7 separate regions of the Homo sapiens genome follow, and regions 1, 2, 3, 5, 6 and 7 are each linked to region 4. Evidence: promoter capture Hi-C in human tissues and cell types (Jung and others, 2019). All regions are on one chromosome and are shown on one strand. The core of a region is centred on a gene start or on the middle of the fragment in contact, and the rest is flanking DNA. Distances in the headings are between cores, read along the strand shown. Region 1 overlaps UTRN (utrophin). Region 2 has its middle 23 kb from the start of SF3B5. Region 3 has its middle 42 kb from the start of PLAGL1. Region 4 holds the start of UTRN (utrophin). Region 5 overlaps UTRN (utrophin). Region 6 overlaps UTRN (utrophin). Region 7 overlaps UTRN (utrophin).

Region 1 (2,700 bases), core at 72-2,571, 220 kb before region 4:
TACTTGCAAGGATAACATCTTACAGCTGGGTGATTTCACATATAATATACTGAATAAACATTACAAAAAAACATTTCATGTAAGTAACTCACAAGAGAGCAGCAAGTCTAAGCTTTGGTCTTACAACTGTCATAAGTGCAAAGATAATACTCTGGATGGTATGATGATAAAGTGATCGGCACATTCGTAAGTTTCACCAGGCAAAGTATATAGTCACAGAATTATAGAGAGAGCATGAGTTCCACAATTAAAACTACAAAGCTCTTTCAATCAAAAAGCAATATGCATGTATCTACCCTACTGCTACTATTATTGACCATTTTTTAAATCAACATTTAAACCAATCATTTTAAGGAGCTCAAGTTTATATTTCTACATTAAATCACACCTTGGAAAGCATACCAATTACAAATTCACAAATGAGTCCAGGTTTAAACACTCACTTGGCCATGTCAATTACTGGCATATTTATGACAGAACTGAAATACTACTTTCCAATATTATTCTCTAGCAAGGGGGGAGAAAATAAAGGATACCCAATAGCTATGCTCTCAGCAATTATTAATAAGAATCTTTCATTTCTTCAGTGGGCATGTACTGATTGACTAGAATAGCATTTAAGAACTATAAAAAATAATGAACTACAAGTAATTACATCTAAATAGTACACATACTTTTTTACAGTAAAAAAGATTACATTGAAAATAGTTATATTTAAGTTATGGAATAAAAACAGTATTCAGAAATGAAAATATTATTTATTTAAGCTTTGCATTGAAAATAATTTTACATAATCTTTAAGTGCAAATACATTAAAATGTGGTGAAATCTGCATGTTCCTTAAATCTGAAAAGACAGTGATAAAAAGATGGTGGTTATTAATATATACTGATGTTTCATTTGATTTACTCTAATGAAGAGAATGTGCTGTGAATTTGTGACTTGTATATATCATCTTTATCATTTCAATTCTGAAATAAGATTAAATGGAAACTTAAGAGCATATTGTTCCAAAAGAAACAAATTTTTCATTGCTTTGAGTCTTTACCTAAAAAAGCTATGAGAATCAGCTGAAAAACAAATTGAATTTATGAGTATATGAACATGGATGTTTAAAAATTGAATATATAAAATCAATATCACCTATGTACCAACAATAAGCACTCTGTAAAAAAACCGAAAAGTATATTTTTACATAGCAATAAAAATAGATATGTAGGAATAAACTCCTGTGCATATATGAATAATGTTTATAAAGAAAAAAATCAAAACATTATGTAGGAATGTGAAAGAATTTAGGACAAAAATGAGACATATATGTTACCGAATAGAATTAATATAACAAAGATATCAATTCTGCACTACACAAATGTATGAATTCAAGGCAATTCAAATCAAAATTTCCAATAGAATTTAAGAATTTAACAATAAAAATTCTAAAGTTCATATAAGATATATACCAAAAATGAAGCATAAAGAGAGGGAACCCATTAACTGCAGTTAAAATATACTATAAAACATGGCTAAACATTCTAAAAACTGGTACATTTCATGGGGCCAGATCAGTGGAGCAGAAAACAACGAAAGGCAACAGGAAAATAAGAATATATGAACTTAGCATGTCAAATCCATGGGGACAAGGTTAATTACTCAACCAATAGCACTAAGATAATTGGTTATCCTTTTGGAAAGAAGGTTAGAGCCTTACCTCACGAAATACACCAAAATAAATACTGGAAAGATTAATGCATTAAAGGTAAAAAGATGAAACTATAAAAGAGCTAGCAGAGGAGGTGGCTGGCAAGATGGCCAAACAGGAACAGCTCCAGTCTGCAGCTCCCAGCAAGACCAAAACAGAATGCAGGTGATTTCTGCATTTCCAACAGAGGTACTTGGTTCATCTCACTGGAACTGGTTAGACAGTGGGTGCAGCCCACGGAGGGTGTCGCTTCACCAGGGAAGCGCAAGAGGTTGGGGAACTCCCTCCCCTAGCCAAGGGAAGCCATGAGGGACTGTGCCGTGAGGTACGGTGCTATCCAGCCAAGATACTACACTTTTCTCAAGGCCTTCACAACCTACAGACCCGGAGATTCCCTCAGGTGCCTACATCACCAGGGCCCTGGGTTTCAAGCACTAAACTGGGCAGCCGATTGGGGAGACACCAAGCTAGCTGCAGGAGTTGTTTGTTTGTTTTTTTTCACACCCCAGTGGTGCCTGGAACACCAGCAAGACAGAACCATTCACTCCCCTGGAAAGGGGACTGAAGCCAGGGAGCCAAGTGGTCTAGCTCAGCAGATCCCATCCCCATGGAGCCCGGCAAGCTAAGATCCAACGGCTGGAAATTCTCGCTGCCAGGACAGCAGTCTGAAGTCGACCTGGAATGCTGGAGCTTGGTGGTGAGAGGGGCATCCACCATTACTGAGGCTTGAGTAGGCAGTTTTCCCCTCACAGTGTAAACAAAGCCTCCAGGAAGTTCAAACTGGGCAGAACCCACCACAGCTCAGAAAAGCAACTGTAGCCAGACTGTCTGATCTCTGAAAGAAGGGTGGCAGCCCCAGCAAGGGGCTTATAGAGAAAACTCCCATCTGCCTGGGACAGAGCACCTGGGGGAAAGGGCAGCTGTGAGCAAAGCTTCAGCAGACTTAAATGTTCCTGCCTGCTGGCTCTGAAGAGAGCAGCGGATCTCCCAGCACAGAGCTC
Region 2 (2,700 bases), core at 122-2,621, 210 kb after region 4:
AAATTTTGAAAAAGAGAATGTAGTAGAGAAAACTCTCTCTAACCACATTTTTCCTCTACTCTTACACAACAGTCAACACAGAAGACTCTGTGATCAAATGTGTGGGTTTTTTTTTTTTTTTTTCCCACACACCAAGTAATAGACACAACCTGGGTGTCCTCCAATCCAGTTCTGACACCATTTACCCTAAGACAGTGTCAGATCCCACAGGCTGAGGGCTGAGTCCCAAGATTGCCTCCCCTTACACACACATCAGTCGCAAGTTCCATGACCCTTTCTTTGGGTTCAATTAATTTGCTGGAGCCACTCACAGAACTCAGGAAAACACTTATTTACACTTACCAGTTTATTATAAAGGATACTGCAAAGAATATAGATGAAGAGGCATGTAGGGTGACGTATGGGGAAGGGACGTGGAGCGTCCATGCCCTCCCTGGAGGCCAACCTGCAGGCACCTCAGTGTGTTCAGCTACCTGGAAGCTCTCTGAACCCGTCCTCTTGGGTTTTTTATGAAAGCTTCAAAACATCAGCTTTCCTTACCCCAGGGTGTAGAGTGAGACCCTCTCCTGGGAGGGTTTTAAGACCCACCCACTATCAGACAGGCGGGGAAACAGGAGAGTGAAAGGAAGGCAGGAGAAAGGCAGAGGCCTATCCCTGAGGCCAAATACACCCAACATTAGAACAAAGACTGTAGCAAGGGCTTATGGGAGGTATGAACCAGGAACAGTGGACAAAAACCAATATATATATTTATATATATCTCATAATACCGCAGAGAATGTTCTTACAGTACCGCATACTGAATCAAAGAACTTAGCTATATAAAACAATTATAATCATTTCCTGAATTTTTCTAAAATAATTTTCTTTTATTCAACCCATGTTTATGTGTTGTCAGATCCCTTATTAATGCATCAATCTATTCTTAGGGAAATCATTAGAATATGACTAATTCATCATAATTGGTATCTATTGAAAGATTAAAACCCAACTGAGATGAATCCAGGAAAAAAGGCATCACTGAAAGATGTATTTTTTTGAGTGACTCACACGCAGTGGGAAAAATATACAAAATGCAAAAAACAAAACAGTGGCATCGGTTTACAGAAACGATGAGAATAGAGGAACAAGTTGTTAAACTGTACCACAAGGAAGTAAACAGACAAATGCAGAATGTGGGATGTTTGAATATTATGGATCTGGTTTCTTCCACAAGTTAATGGCATGGAAAATAAAAAGACTAAAAAGGAGTTATGAGCAATAACAACAAAATGCATTGGGTAGAACTTGTGTGGTCCCTGATTAAAATAAAACAAAACAATACCCCTCCCTCCCCAAAAAAAACAGTTGTAAGAACACATTTTTGAGACAATAGAGAAAATTTGAATACAGTATGGGTTTTATACAACACCAAGCTATGACCATCAATTTTGCTAGTGTTATGATCACATTATAACACTATTATATGCTTTATGTGCTAGTATGGATATGCTTATATGCTTCTATTATATACCACTATTATAATAGCATAAGAAAGTAAACAGGAATGAAATAAGCTGATGTCTGGGTTTTGCTTTAAATACTTTAACAAAAGAAAAGAAAAAATATATTAGGCACACATGGCAAAATATTGGTATTTATTGAATTGAGCAATGGTCATATGAGAGTTCATTTTACTACTTTCTCTTCTTTGTATGCTTAAACTTTTCACATGAAAATAAAATTACTTGGACAAATGACAGATATATAGTTTAAAAATGTTACTATTTTCTTCTAGTAGGCAAAAAGATAACTGCATGTAATTTTAGCCTGTAAAAATTAAATTATTAGAGGTAGAAGTTGAATTTTACATCTCGTACTTGTCAAGAGGTTATACAAAAGTACTTTTTTGTAGAATGAATAATATCATTGATACTAACTTAAGTATCTAAATACTACTATTTAAATTTCATTTCTTTTTATGGATTTTCCTTAAAACGGTCACATCTGTGTAATTCCCAAGAGAATAAGATAGGTATCATAAGAATACACATGCCAAGCTTACTCTAAGTGCACTTTTGATAGATTTGGGACATACAATACGGGGAGGGAAGGACAGAGAAGAAACAGAGGCACAAAGTTAGTTTTCAAATGTAGGCATCTGGGAGAATGGCAGTGCTGCTAGAATTATGAAAATTGAAATAAGAAACTAGTTATAGTGATAAGATGCTGAGTTCAGTTTGGAATGTTGAGTGAGAAAGTCTGGTGCGCACTGCAGGGCAAGATGTTCAGCAGGCAGTAAAAAAAAAAAAAAAAAAACAAAAAACAGGTATCTTGTGACTGGGGATCTTTCAGGGCTAGCGATTTGGAATCTGTATGCCTAGAAGTGATTTATTATGTGCTTCCCAAGAACATAAGTGGAAAGGAGAATGAGCGAAGATAAAGGGAAATGTTTCAAGCTAAAATATTGGAAGACCCCCACATTTAAGAAAAGAAAAGAGGAAAGAATGACGATAAAGAAATATTTTGAGTGTTAGGAGAGCCAGGAGATACAGAATCACTGAAGCAAACGGAGGAATTACTTTCTGCTAGGGCTGGCATTATTTCCTCAATGCAGAGATAACAGCTTTGAATGGACAGATAATTTCATGTAGGATTTCCTTTAATTTCTTGATAATTGCTTTGCCTCTGCTTAGGGTTATTAGCTATTTCCTTGGGGCT
Region 3 (2,700 bases), core at 29-2,528, 240 kb after region 4:
GCATCCAATAAGATATCATTTGTGAAAAAAACAGGAGTAAATGATTGTCCTTAGTTGTTATTTGATTGTATGTGTGTGCCTCATGCATGGTGGGTGTTGTTTACCAAAAGGATTCAAAGCAATAAAGTAGAATTAGTGTGAGGAAAGTGCTAGGAGAAGCTGTTTGGCATCTAAATATATGCCTGAATGGATCTTTTTCCATTAAGCACATACATGTTGCAGTTATTGGTTTCCCTGTGTCCTGCACTTTTGCTTATTGTGGTTTCCTGTATTGAGTGGATTCATTGTTTTCTGAAATTTATTGTAATTTAATTGTGTGATATATAGAAAACTTAGAGAAAGTACGTAATTGAGGTGATTTCCTAGACATTATCTGATAGTCTGTAGGTGTCTAGATTTTAAGTTGTTACATATTACAAACTGTTAAAGCTGATTTAGAGTTGTTACATATCATGTACTGACTTATTTTAAAGCTGATTTAAGATTTTATTTTTACATTTAATTTATAAATGTTTGTCAGCAGATTTTGCCTGAAGATATTATTGGTAATAAAAGAGTAACAGATACAGTTCCCTAAGGTTTTTGGCTTTGTTTTGTTTTTGAGACAGGGTCTTGCTTTGTCACCTAGGTTGGAGTGTGGTGGCACAATTGTAGTTTACTACAGCCTGAAACTCACAGACTCAAGTGATCCTGCCACCTCAGCCTCTTGAGTAGCTGGGACAACAGGCATGTGCCACCACACCTGATTTACTTAAAAAAAAATTTTTTTTTGTAGAAACAGGGTCTCACTATGTTTCCCAGGTTGGTCTCAAACTCCTGGCCTCAAGTGATCCTCCTGCCTTGGCCTCCCAAAGTGCTGGGATTATAGACATGAGCCACTGCACCTGACACAGAGATGTGTATAAATATCATGTGCTTATTCTTTGCAAGGCAGGAATAAGATATTTATTCCCTAGAATAAGCCTATAATGTAATAATAGAGACATAAACATAGAGAAGAGACAGCCTTAAAAGAGTGTAGAAGAATCTTTCTCTCCTCAGACAGAAGAAAAGAGAATAACATATGAGCGATAAAAATGCTCTGAGAAGGGATTTGGGCAGGAAAGCCGAGCAAGCCCTGGTTGCTGGTATCAAAGACCTTCTGGCAGCATTGTGTTATGGACATATTTCACTTAGTTGAGTTCAGCAGTCGATTTCAAGGGGAAATAAAAGAACAATAATTAGCACAGGAGGTTGCCCCTAGCATGTCACACAGTGGGTGTATTGTCCTGGAATGAGTACGTTCTGGGCAATGTGAATCTCTTGTTCCCTTAGGTGGTCTCAATTTCCCTCAAAACTCACCAGACACATAAATATTTTGAGTTAAACTCAAAGTAAGCACCCTTACTTGCTTTCATGAAAAATAACTACTCTCCTACTTCATTCAAAAAGCCGAGGCTCTAAATTGTGAATGGCTTCCCTCCCATTCACCCTTTCCCCCTTCTGCCATTTTTCGCATCTGCACCTTTCCTCCCCTCCACTTCTCCAGCTTCGAAGGATCTTAGTCCAGACCTGTCTTGTGCACTGTTGGACCCTGCTTACTCAATTTATCCTCTCCCTCATGATCAGAAGCTACGCAGCACGAAGGATAAAAACCTTGGCTTTGGAGCCACCTTCTAAGTATGTCACACAGTTATCAAACCTCCATGTGTCTCAGTTTTTTATTTGAAAAATGGGACTAGTAATAGAGTGACATAATTAGGCTTTGTGTCCCCACCCAAATCTCATCTTGAAATTGTAATCCCCATAATCCCTACATGTCTAGGGAGAGACCTGGTGGGAGGCAATTAGATCATGGGGCCAGTTTTCCCCATGCTGTTCTCATGATAGTGAGTGAGTTCTCACAAGATCTGATGGTTTCATAAGAGGCTCTTTCCCCTTCACTCCTCACTCTTCCCCTGCTTCCATGTGAGAAGGTCCAAGCTTGCTTCCTCTTTGCTTTCCACCATGATTGTAAGTTTCCTGATGCCTCCCTAGCCGTGCAGAACTGTGAGTCAATTACATCTCTTTCCTTTATAAATTACCCATCTGAGGTATTTCTTTATAGCAAAGTGAAAACTGACTAACACAGTTAATTGATACCAAGGTAGTGGGGTATTGCTATAAAGATACTTAAAAATGAGGAAGCAACTTTGGAACTGGGTAACAGGCAGAGGTTGGAACAGATTGGAGGGCCCAGAAGAGGACAGGAAGTTGTGGGAAAGTTTGGAACTTTCTAGAGACTTGTTGAATGGTTTTGACCAAAATGCAGTTAATGATGTGGACAATGAAGTACAGGCTGAGGTGGTCTCAGATGAAGATAAGGAAAGTCTTGGGAACTGGAGCAAAGGTCACATTTGCTATGCTTTAGCAAAGAGACTGGTGGCATTTTGCCCCTGCCCTAGAGATCTGTGCAACTTTGAACTTGAGAGAGATTATTTAGGGTAACTGGCAAAAGAAATTTCTAAGCAGCAAAGCATTCAAGAGGTGACCTGGTTGATTTTGAAAGCATTCAATCTTATGCATTCACAAAGAGATGGTTTGAAATTGGAATTTGGATTTAAAAGGGAAGCAGAGCATAGAAGTTTGGAAAATATGCATCCCGACCTTGTAGTAGAAAAGAAAAACCTATTTTCTTAAGGAGGAATTCAAGCCAGCTGCAGAAATTTGCATGAGTAATGA
Region 4 (2,700 bases), core at 176-2,675:
TTTCTCCCTCCTCCTCGAAAAACGCACTGGAATGAGTCCCTTTCATAATCTGAGGCTTGGAGGAAAAAATCCTTTGAACAACCTGCCATCTGAAAGTTGCACAGCCTTCAATTGGTGCTTTGTTGGTTTTTAAGTGGCCTTGAGCAACCACAGCCTCGGACCCCGGGCCAAAGCGGGGCATGAATTACCTTGTCAGTTGCAGCAAGAGATCCCCAGAGTCCGGAAAAGGAGAGCCGGCGACTGCGCGGGACTACACACCAATGGGGCGCCCCCCTCCTCCTGTCCCCTCAGTCTCTCCAGGGCCGCTGCCAGGGAGCTTGGCGATCGCGCCACACTCTCCGGAGCCCCACCCTTGGGAGCAGCAACCACCCAGAGGTCAAGCACGTTCCCCGCCGGGCGGCTGGCTGGGAAGCGCTCCGCTGGCCGCCGACCACACAGCCACCCTCTGCCCACCCTCTCCTGTGGACACCGCCGGAGCCCCGCCTTCCCCGGGCCCGGGTGTCTGTGACAGACTCTCCTAAGAGGCCACGTCCCCTCTTGCAAATCACTGGCCCAGCGCCCTGCACCGCGCGATGCACGGAGGGCGACTCTGTCACCCCGGCGGGGAGGAAGATTAGGGGAGCAGGGAGGCAGCACAGAGCTGGTCAGATAAGTTTGGATCGTTCACAACTAGTACGGATCCCAAGGACCTCCACGCCCGAGCTCTCCACGCCTCCGGCATTCTCTCTCGCACCGCGGGGAGCTAAACTGAGGCCCCGAGGAAAGGGCACGCAAAAGTTACTCCCATCTTCGACTCTGGGACTTGGGAAGCAGCTCGGGACGCCGATCCCAGGCGGAAGAACCACAGAAAGAGCCATCCTCCTCCCGGCCCCCGCCCCATTCCCTCGGGGGCTGTAGTCACATTACCAGCCCGAGGCTTCAATAATGCATGGGCTTACCTGCTGCCCGCGGGCCTCCTCGCCTGCCGGTCGCCACCGCCGCACCCCGAGCTGGCCAAGGGCTCCTCTAGGAGTTTGACACGGAGTAACCGCGGGGGTGTGTGCGAGTGTTAGTTTGGTGGTGCGATGTATTTAAAAAAAAAAATAAAGCTTGGAGAAGCAGACACGAACCGAAATTTTAAAAAAAGAAAGAAAGAAAGAGAAATTGACACCCGACTGAAAACGCCCCTTACTTGTGCAATCTTCCTGCCTGGTAGTTCCGCCAAAAACAAAACAGTCAAAGCGCAAACCTGGAAGGGGCGCGCAGGCACCAACTTTGCCAAACGCTACAGAGTTTTCCGTTTGCAGAAATGACCCAAAAGAAGGGGGGCGCCGCTCCCCGTGATTCCCCAATCGGCTTCTGGAGCCAGAGGCTCCTCCTCGCCCCTCGGCGGGAGAAAGCCCGCGGCCGGCTGCTGCTGCCCGCTTCCCTGCTCCGAGGAAAAACGACTCCACAACTTTGTGCGCGAGAGAGGCTCGCTCCTTCGGCGGCTCCTCCTCCTCCTCCCCGCTGCGGGCCTGCCCCTTTGTTGGAGCCGAGCGCTGGAGGCGGAGGAGGGAGGGTGGGGCGCAGGACCGCTGGGTCGCGCGTTGCCGCCCCCACCCCCCGGGAAGGGGCTCGCCTCCGGGCAGCCAGGGGTCCGCTCTCCAGATGAGAAGGGTGCAGATCAGCGCCAGCCCTCCGGCCCGCGCCTCTGCAGCGCTCCGGCTCCCCCTCGGCGCTCTCGCCCCGCCGCCGCCGGCCCAGCAACTTTGTTCCGGAAGATCAGCCCCACTACGTTCCCGGGTCAGCGTCTGCCGGGCCTCGGCGGTCACCGCGGCCACCGCGTCGGGAACTTGGCGCCCCAAGTCACCTGACTGCGCGCCCCGTCAATCAGCGCCGGCCCTGCGCGCCCTCCCAGCCCGCAGCAGCCCGGCTCGGCGCTTGGCTGGCCTGGGGCGCGCGCTCCAGAGTGAACCGTGCGTGCCGGGAGCCGGGAGTCCGGAGACCGAACCAGAATGGATGCCTCGAGCAGACACAATTCCCCTTATTCAGATTATCCGAAAATGTGAGTCACGTCCCCTTAGGCAAAACAGGTCTCTAGTTAGGGTGATATTTTTTTAAGAGATAAATTCCAATCTGCCTTCCAACTCACCCCATCTCAGTTTGCTGACGTTGCTGATTTTTTTTTTACCCCTAGTTCCAACCGTATATTTATTTTACATTATTTCTCTAGTGTCGTTGTTAATATTGAAAAAGAAGTTTTCTCTTACATTAGTTTGTATTACAAGTAGTGTTTGCGCTGACCTTATTTTTCTGTTTTCCAATATGCACACACAAACGCACATCTGTTATAGAGCCTGTTCCAAGCTTGAGAGGTTGACCAAAAAATATCTGGGAAGAAATGAGCTCGTGATGTGTGTGCATTTTTCTTATTTACACATTTCATTGCTCGTGTGTTCCTGTGATTCTTTTACACGATCAGCACACGTGGGAGGGGAAAGAAAACAGCAACCTGAGTTCCTAGTTCGTATTAACAGAGAAAAGGATGGTTGATACTGGAGCGCCGGTTTATTGCTGGCTTAATATTTGAGTTAATTTACGCGGCAGTAAAGATTAAACCACTAGGGGCCTTAAACTAATTTTCAGAAAGAGTTTACTCGCCTTTTGTTATAGTGAAAGTTTCCCCCATCCATCCCTAAGTGCTCCAGGGAGGGGGCAGGTAGGAGATTCCCAAAAGAG
Region 5 (2,700 bases), core at 152-2,651, 170 kb before region 4:
AACTGATATTTATATATTATTCATATTTATATACTATTCAAATAGTATCCATCATAACACAATCACAACTTCTGAGCAACCCATATTACTTCAACCAGACAATCCAGAGAAGAATCCCAATTCTAAATTGTTTACATGTAAGTGCTATCAAATAAATTCAGCTATCCTACTTTGATTTTCACAAAGTTTACTGTGACTAGGTAGAACAACCTTCTTATAGTCAAAGATCAAGGAATATTAGTAAGAGACTCTAAGAAACACCGTTTATTTTGTCTAACTAAAGATCAATGTAAAAGTCACCATCGAACTGGAGAAAAAGGCAATTATCTACTTTTTACAAGTTGATTTTTTGCTACCTCTTAAGATGGCAGGAGACTAGACTATAGATTCTCTACCCAGGTGCCCAAATAGTTAATGCAGTAATGTGTAGGAGACGTATGAGCACCCAGGACAAAAAAGCTCTGCAAGTTCCCATCACACTCTTCAGAAACACACATAAGCATGGAAAGCGGCAGGGCTAAGATCCCACACCTTTTAATTGTATTTATTTTTTACAACTCTAAAGAAAATATATTGAATACACTTTTTGATTTAAAATAGTTTGTTGTATTCCGAAGGCAAAACATCTTCAGCATAATGTTAATATAGAGTCATAAATTATTAGATACCAGATTAAGGGTGATCTAAACTAACTAAAAAGTAGTACCACTAACTGGATCACCATAAGAAGTATTCCTCACTGTACATCTCAGTGACTGACAAAGATGAAAAAAAAAAAACGTCCTCCAAATAGGGATCTGATGACAGCTAGCATGAATGGATTCAAAATTCACTACAATGTACTAAAAGCTACCTTCTGCCTACATTTATTTTACAGGAGGCTTTTGAATTCCATAATGTCTTTATGCCAGCAGAAAATCCAGCATGATGAACTATTTTATGCACTAGGATATATGTGGTTTATGTTTTTTACCTTCAACTTCTTTTTCATTTCGGAAGTGTCTTGCATCTTCATATACTCTTTTATCTCTGTGGTCTGAATGGCAGTTTTCCATTTCAAAATCCAGTTCAACAGCTCTGCACTTATAGCATCAAACCTGTTTGAAGATTCAGAGGTGACCATTTGTCATGTTTCCTTCTACTGTTTTACTTGACTCCAGAAAGAGCAACTCAAATGCTCATCAGGAATATGTCTTTTTATCACTCCCCCAAAAACAGCAACCCAGAAATAGGGTAACCATGCAAAATGAGATCATATATTTACAACTAAAAGTATGAAAAGAGTAATAATATTATAGGGTTAATAAACAATTGAAGAAAATAATTAAATAATTTGTTGTTGTTGTTGTTGTTTCGAGATGGAGTCTCGCCCTGTCACCCAGGCTTGAGTGCAATGGCACGATCTCGGCTCACTGCAACCTCCGCCTCCAGATTCAAAGGATTCTCCTGCCTCAGCCTCCCGAGTAGCTAGGATTATAGGTGCCCACCACCACACCCAGCTAATTTTTGTATTTTTAGTAGAGACAGAGTTTCACCATGTTGGCCAGGCTGACCTCATGATCGGCCCGCCTTGGCCTCCCAAAGTGCTGTGATTACAGTCATGACCCACCATGCCTGGCCTTAAATAAAAATTTTTAAAACTTTACATATTAAAACAATTTTCACCTTTATAAGGAATCACTTGTATTTTTATAAATGCTTATAGATAATAAAAACCAGAGTTGGTTAGATAATCAGCAAAGAACAAGTACAGACATTACTAAAGTTAACATCTTCTTTTGTTCAATATGTAATGATTGAGCCTTACTAAATGTCAGGCACTGGGCTGGGCTCTTGATATGAAAGTGAACCAGATACAAATCTCAGCTCCCAAGGAGCTTCTAGTCTAGTAAGCAATGGAAAGTAACAGGCAATAACAAAAGAATTTGCTAGGTGCTAATTCCAGGAATTCACAGGAGTGGCTTCTAATCCAATTGGGGCATGGATGGCTTCCTAAAGGAGAACAACAGCATTACACTGAGGAGTTTCCCTTGCCAAGGGAAAGCAGAGAAAGGGAAGATCACATTTTGCAAACTGCAAGTATTAGTTAGGCGTGTCTGGAATAATGAGTACTGAACTCACAAGGGAGGGACAATTGACGATGTGGCCAAGAATCACATGGACCAGCTACAAGAAGGCCCTGCAGGACATATTAAGGAGTTTGGACTTAACCCAAAGGCAGTTGAGAGCCAAGGGAGAGTTCTATGCATGGAACTGACATGATTCTATTTATCCTTTAGTGTTCACTGAGGAGAAGGCATTAAAGAGAGACGAGTCGAGAACAGGCTGTGAAAGCAACGGGAGTCACAACTAAGATAGTAACAGTGGGAAGGAAGACGAAAGGACAGGTTTGAGAGGTGTTGAGAAGGTTGGTCAAAACCACAGCAAGGAGGAACAAGAGGAGTCACGATCACTGATTGCTGGCCTTCTACCCGGCCCCTTTCTAAGTGTTTTATGTCTATTATTAACTCAAGGAATCCTCACCAGCACCCTAAAAAGTATACACTATTATTATCCCCTTTAGAGATGAAGGTACTGAGCTCACAGAGGTTTTCAGTAACTGTCCCATGTCACAAAGCTAACAAAGGGTGAGGCTGGGATTCAAACCAAGACTGTCTTCTTAACTAGTACCCTCCCCACAGAGCTTCTCGATACATTAAG
Region 6 (2,700 bases), core at 102-2,601, 180 kb before region 4:
GCAGCCACCCCATCTGGTAAGTGAGGAGCCCCTCCGCCCGGCAGCCACCCCATCTGGGAAGTGAGGAGCGTCTCCGCCCGGCAGCCGCCCCGTCTGGGAGGTGGGGGGCGCCTCTGCCCGGCCACCCCATCTGGGAAGTGGGGAACCCCTCTGCCCGGCCGCCACCCCGTCTGGGAGGTGTACCCAACAGCTCATTGAGAACGGGCCATGATGACGATGGCAGTTTTGTGGAATAGAAGGGGGGGAAGTGTGGGGAAAAGAAGGAGAGATCGGATTGTTGCTGTGTTTGTGTGGAAGGAAGTGGACATAGGAGACTCCATTTTGTTCTGTACTAAGAAAAATTATTCTGCCTTGGGATGCTGTTGGTCTATAACCTTGCCCCCAACCCCGTGCTCTCTGGAACATGTGCTGTGTCCACTAAGGGTTAAATGGATTAAGGGCGGTGCAAGATGTGCTTTGTTAAACAGATGCTTGAAGGCAGCATGCTCGTTAAGAGTCATCACCACTCCCTAATCTCAAGTACCCAGGGACACAAACACTGCGGAAGGCGGCAGGGCCCTCTGCCTAGGAAAACCAGAGACCTTTGTTCACATGTTTATCTGCTGACCTTCCCTCCACTATTGTCCTATGACCCTGCCAAATCCCCCTCTCCGAGAAACACCCAAAAATGATCAATAAATACTAAAAAAAAAAAGGAAAGAAACAGACAGAGAAGCCATGTAGGCCAATGGATCATCCCAAAAGTGACAAAGGGAATAGAAGGGAACCTGTAAAGCCACACTATAATATTTTCACTACTAAAAATCCTGCATGTAATTCTAACCACACTGTGCTCTAAAAGAGACAGTGTGCCCATATAAAGAAATGCTGAGGTCTGACTACCAAGCTCAGCACCTGCCTAGCCATGGGGCCTTGAGAAACTAATTTTTCTTTGAGCCTTAATAACTCATTGTGAAACTGGAATCATAACAACTATCTTGTCTGGTTGTTCTGAAAAACAGAGACTCCCACATAGAAGAATGCACTAAATGGTAGCGATTATTATACTAAGATCTACAAAACCAACTGCTTTATTATGACCAAGATTGAGACCATAAAAGAGTTACCACATCCAAGTTTTGGTGTTTATGTCCCATCAGAGGCACCACAGGAATGAACAGCCAGGATGAGCATGTGTTTGCATAAGCATGGGTTTCACTTTTTTAATTGCTGCCAACATTAATGCTTGTTCTATCCTGTAACTGTTTCAAAGTAACTGTTTCAAATGGCTACTGCTTATATATCTGGCTAGACCTGGCCAAATACAGCTCATGGGAAGGAATTGGTACAGAAGGAAAGGCCCATCCTTTAGAAGTGCCTGGCAGCAGCAGATTCACTCGGCGTTTCCACCTCGTGGCACACCGCGCGGGAAGGGTTATCAAGTCCCAAAGATCAATGCTACCTACCACCTGTACCTGTATGGGTGAAGGCAGAAGACAGGGAGCTCTACTCTGCCTTCCACTCTCCCTATCTTATCTCCCCTTTCCCTGAGCAAAATATTGTCACAATCAACCTGTAGCAGATGTTTCCTGTGCTTTTCAAACATACCAAAAGTCTGCTCATCTTTAAGTCAATTCCACCACAACAAAGAGGTTGATTACAAAGATCGTCAAAGAGCTCACATGAAAATAGTGTTTCTCTGTCCATTTAAAAATTACTCAGCTGATGCACTTACAAGCTTCTAATCTACAATAATGACGATTTTTTTCTTCACCTCCATCTGCTTACAGAACACACGCATGCACACACACACACACACACACACATTTCTTTAAGGGACTTCAGTTCTTACAAACCAAAACGAAATATAAAAACTGTTAGTAAATTTCTAAAGCAAATGTCATTATTTCACATGCAAAAAAAAATAAACTAAGTACTAATCTGGGGCAGCCATTTCTCATACCTATTTTTACTCACAAATATTCAAATGAATATAAAATTACGAATACAGTATTTTTTGAAAATCAAAATATCAAATATTCTAGTATGGAAGGGTCAAAGTCTACATGGACCATCACTGCTCAAAAGCAATGATTTCTAAGCATTTCAGATGGGCAACAACCTGCTATGGGATCACGGACAAGGAACAGCAAGGTCATTAAAACAATTCCTCTGACCCTATCTCACCTCATTTCCCATCCCCCATCCTGTGACCTAAGGATGGAGGTAATTTAAAGCTTGGTAAATCTGGATTTAAGACAGTAAGATTGCAAGGTACACAACTACCTCTGGAGACTTGATTACAGCTAAATTCTTGGCATTTTCTTTTGCTCCTCCCCCATCTGTCGGAATGTCCACAGCTTTTTAAGACATAGACCAGAAAAAAAAAAAAATAGTGTGAAGCCAGAATTAAAACAGTAATTTAAGGCAGCCAGGTTCCTATTTTGTTTCACTTTATAATACTCAATAACCTCAAAAACACAACCTTGAAAATGTGCTCTCTCACTTAGTAGGGAAGACAAACAATGACACTGCTACTACACTTATTAAAAACTAATAAGGTTCTTAAATCTAAGGAAGGGAATATATGAATATTCCCTTCAGTAAAGTAAAATGTGTTCACAAATGAGAAAAAAAACTCAAACCCTTATGAGATAATTATATCAATTATATGTTACCTAAGAAGGGTTAAATCATCCGTACTAATATTACTCTTAGAAA
Region 7 (2,700 bases), core at 33-2,532, 250 kb before region 4:
TGGTTTAAACCTGCCAGTTTTTCTTTCAAGAAGCTTCCATCTGCCTGGGAGAGTTTCTGCACAATCCCATCCCCAGTTCGGTTTAGTGCTGCAAAACTGGGCTGGTGGCTGCTGATGCCCACCTCAAGTTCCTGTAACAGAGCACAACTCAAGATTAGTTTCACTAATAAGTAAATGATTCTGATGCAATGAATCCACCCAAGTATTGTGGTATCAATTTAAGTGTGAAAGAAACAAACTCCTGGAAAGATATTTTATGTTAGAAAAAAAAGGCATTTTAAAACAATTTAATTACATTTCAATGAACATGCTAAATGAAATTTATTTTGAAATCTAACCCACCTTCATGAATGTCATCAGGCAAAATACAAGGAAATAGGGCAGCTTAATAACTAAAATGAATAACAGCTGTTTACATTAAAGCATAAGCATCAATCATGTTTGATGAAAATGAATTGCTCATCTTCTTTCAAGCAAGTGCTTGAAGGCATTGCTTTAAAAAATTATATACCCCAATAAATCCTTATATCCTTGTGTCCTACCACATACAAGTAAACCTAAATGCACATTTTACTAAGATATTGCTTCACTGGTTGATATGGTTTGGTTGTGTCCCCACCCAAATCTCATCTTGAATTGTACCTCCCATAATCCCCACATGCCAAGGGAGGGACCCAGTGGGAGGTAACTGAATCACAGGGGTGGTTACCCTCGTGTTGTTCTAGTGAGAGTGATCTGATGGTTTTATAAGGGACTTTTCCCCCACTTTGCTCAGCACTTCTCTCTCCTGCCGCCATATGAAGAAGGACATGTTTCTTTCCCCTTCCACCATGACTGGACGTTTCCTGTGGCCTCCTCAGCCATGCTGAACTATGAGTCAATTAAACCTCTTTCCTTTATAAATTACCCAGTCTCAGGTATGTCTTTATTAGCAGCATGAGAACAGACTAATACACTGGTCTACAAATGTTTAAGTAACAGATTGAATGAATATTTTCAAGTCAAATTTAAACACTTATCTGTAACTCCAAAAATAAGAAAAATGCATTAACACATTTATTTATTTATTTATTTATTTATTGACACAGTATTGCTCTGTCACCCAGGCTGGAGTGCAGTGGCACGATCTTGGCTCACTGCAACCTCTGCCTCCCAGGTTCAAGCAATTCTCCTGCCTCAGCCTCCTGAGTAGCTGGGACTGCAGGTGCGTTCCACCATGCCCGGCTAATTTTTTGTATTTTTAGTAGAGATGGGTTTTCACCATGTTAGCCAGGATGGTCTCGATCTCCTGACCTCATAATCCGCCCACCTCAGCCTCCCAAAATGCTGGGATTACAAGTGTGAGGCACCGCGCCCGGCCACATTAACACATTTATAAGAAAAACAAATGAATTATCTTTAAATTGTCATGTCCTTCTAAATAAAATACATTTAAAAAACTTAATAAAAGAGAAAATATTTTTATCAATGGTAGAATTGAAATTGCGTGTGCTTTCTACCATTATTTTTAAAGACCTATTGTTATCAGAACTAACTTTGTGTTATATTTTCCCAAGACTGAATTAGACTTACATGAGCAGCTGCCCTGCTGTCGCTCCAGAATAATTTACTTTATGATAATTATCAATGATACAAAGAAAAATGAGATGCCTAAGTGTTTAAGTACAAAAAACAGAGGTGAGGCATGCAAATATTTTTTCTGTTCTTGGTATAGTCTTAGGCATAACAGTTTACAAATTTTATTCTAAATATAAAATTGTTTAAATAAAATTGTTTTTCACATTAGCCACCAAGGAGTATTTTTATTTAAATTTCTTTGAAATCCTGATTGAAAATTGTGATTGACCAATTTCTTAAACTTTTATAACTGGTAACAAGAATTGGAACAAAAATTACAAATTGTCCATTGACTTCTGAAAAATTAATATATTTTGTCCCTACTTCTGAAATCTGTCTTAACAGGCATACACTAACCATATGTGCAGTCCCCCTCCTCTAACAGAAAGCACTCACCTGCTGATGTATCCTGGCTTTCTCTAAGTCCAGGCTGCCACCTGGAGCACAGGTATCAACCAGTAATTCTTCAGCCTCTGTTATCCACTGTGTGAGGTCATTAAGGTCACAATGGAACTGTCTCCATTCTTCCATTGCCCTGTCAAAACAACTAGAGGACAATACACAAAATAAAATAGGTTTCCAAATTTTCCAGGACTGCCTAAAGCCATTTTTCTAAAAAAGAAAATCAAATTTCATTTAAACAGAAAGACCTCAAACAACTGAATTCACAGCCTATTGCTCCACAAAACCAATTTTCGTAGTGGGATACAGGTAATAATTCCTCCTAGAGATATATGCATCATAACAAGGGCAAAGCAATCTGCTCACACCACCAGCTACCAAATCCTCTCTCTCATACACACACACATGCACACTCACGTATACACACATGCACACTCACATACACACTCACAAACACACTCACACACACACTCGAGCAGCTTTTTAACTAAAAAGATGCAGCCTTTTCTGGCTTGAAAAATCAGGATCGATTAGTTGTAGGCATGTTAACGCATCCAACTTTATACATTTAACATTTAAATACTGTGAAATATAAAATATGATTCATTATTTTCTTGGGGAAAAATATGTTGTTTTACTACCAGAACACTTAGTTCCCGGCAAGAATAAAGCACAAAAGGC

What was found. The method cuts DNA at HindIII sites, captures the fragments that hold promoters and counts their contacts. A contact is called where the count stands out against the background at its distance.
Region 1: a contact is called between a fragment that was not itself captured here and the fragment with the promoter of UTRN in region 4, in 8 of the 25 tissues and cell types used here (bladder, dorsolateral prefrontal cortex, heart right ventricle and 5 more).
Region 2: a contact is called between a fragment that was not itself captured here and the fragment with the promoter of UTRN in region 4, in 2 of the 25 tissues and cell types used here (spleen and thymus).
Region 3: a contact is called between a fragment that was not itself captured here and the fragment with the promoter of UTRN in region 4, in 1 of the 25 tissues and cell types used here (spleen).
Region 5: a contact is called between a fragment that was not itself captured here and the fragment with the promoter of UTRN in region 4, in 2 of the 25 tissues and cell types used here (spleen and thymus).
Region 6: a contact is called between a fragment that was not itself captured here and the fragment with the promoter of UTRN in region 4, in 2 of the 25 tissues and cell types used here (mesenchymal stem cells and spleen).
Region 7: a fragment that was not itself captured here is called in contact with the fragment with the promoter of UTRN in region 4 in 2 of the 25 tissues and cell types used here (spleen and thymus).

The regions. Positions count from the first base shown.
Region 1 is chr6:144,507,785-144,510,484 of GRCh38, reverse strand. The region is part of intron 34 of UTRN (utrophin); the gene reads right to left. Among named protein-coding and RNA genes, the nearest start is that of SNORA98, 100 kb to the right of the region's middle. The HindIII fragment of the contact is 4,170 bases long and covers 1-2,700 here.
Region 2 is chr6:144,071,652-144,074,351 of GRCh38, reverse strand. No RefSeq gene overlaps it. Among named protein-coding and RNA genes, the nearest start is that of SF3B5, 23 kb to the left of the region's middle. The HindIII fragment of the contact is 3,452 bases long and covers 1-2,700 here.
Region 3 is chr6:144,048,798-144,051,497 of GRCh38, reverse strand. It overlaps a transcript of PLAGL1 not described here. Among named protein-coding and RNA genes, the nearest start is that of PLAGL1, 42 kb to the right of the region's middle. The HindIII fragment of the contact is 4,345 bases long and covers 1-2,700 here.
Region 4 is chr6:144,284,060-144,286,759 of GRCh38, reverse strand. UTRN (utrophin) reads right to left here and starts at 1,425. Exons shown (of 75, transcript NM_007124.3): 1 at 939-1,425. It overlaps LOC124901418, which reads right to left and starts at 262. Exons shown (of 1, transcript XM_047419641.1): 1 at 1-262. The coding sequence starts at 89. RefSeq lists silencers at 1,486-1,585, 1,796-1,855 and an enhancer at 1,986-2,055. The HindIII fragment of the contact is 2,482 bases long and covers 1-1,708 here.
Region 5 is chr6:144,449,767-144,452,466 of GRCh38, reverse strand. It overlaps UTRN (utrophin), which reads right to left. Exons shown (of 75, transcript NM_007124.3): 18 at 974-1,097. Among named protein-coding and RNA genes, the nearest start is that of SNORA98, 45 kb to the right of the region's middle. The HindIII fragment of the contact is 5,884 bases long and covers 1-2,700 here.
Region 6 is chr6:144,467,698-144,470,397 of GRCh38, reverse strand. The region is part of intron 23 of UTRN (utrophin); the gene reads right to left. Among named protein-coding and RNA genes, the nearest start is that of SNORA98, 63 kb to the right of the region's middle. RefSeq lists an enhancer at 90-766. The HindIII fragment of the contact is 4,554 bases long and covers 1-2,700 here.
Region 7 is chr6:144,530,516-144,533,215 of GRCh38, reverse strand. It overlaps UTRN (utrophin), which reads right to left. Exons shown (of 75, transcript NM_007124.3): 42 at 2,014-2,164; 43 at 1-131. Among named protein-coding and RNA genes, the nearest start is that of SNORA98, 130 kb to the right of the region's middle. The HindIII fragment of the contact is 6,702 bases long and covers 1-2,700 here.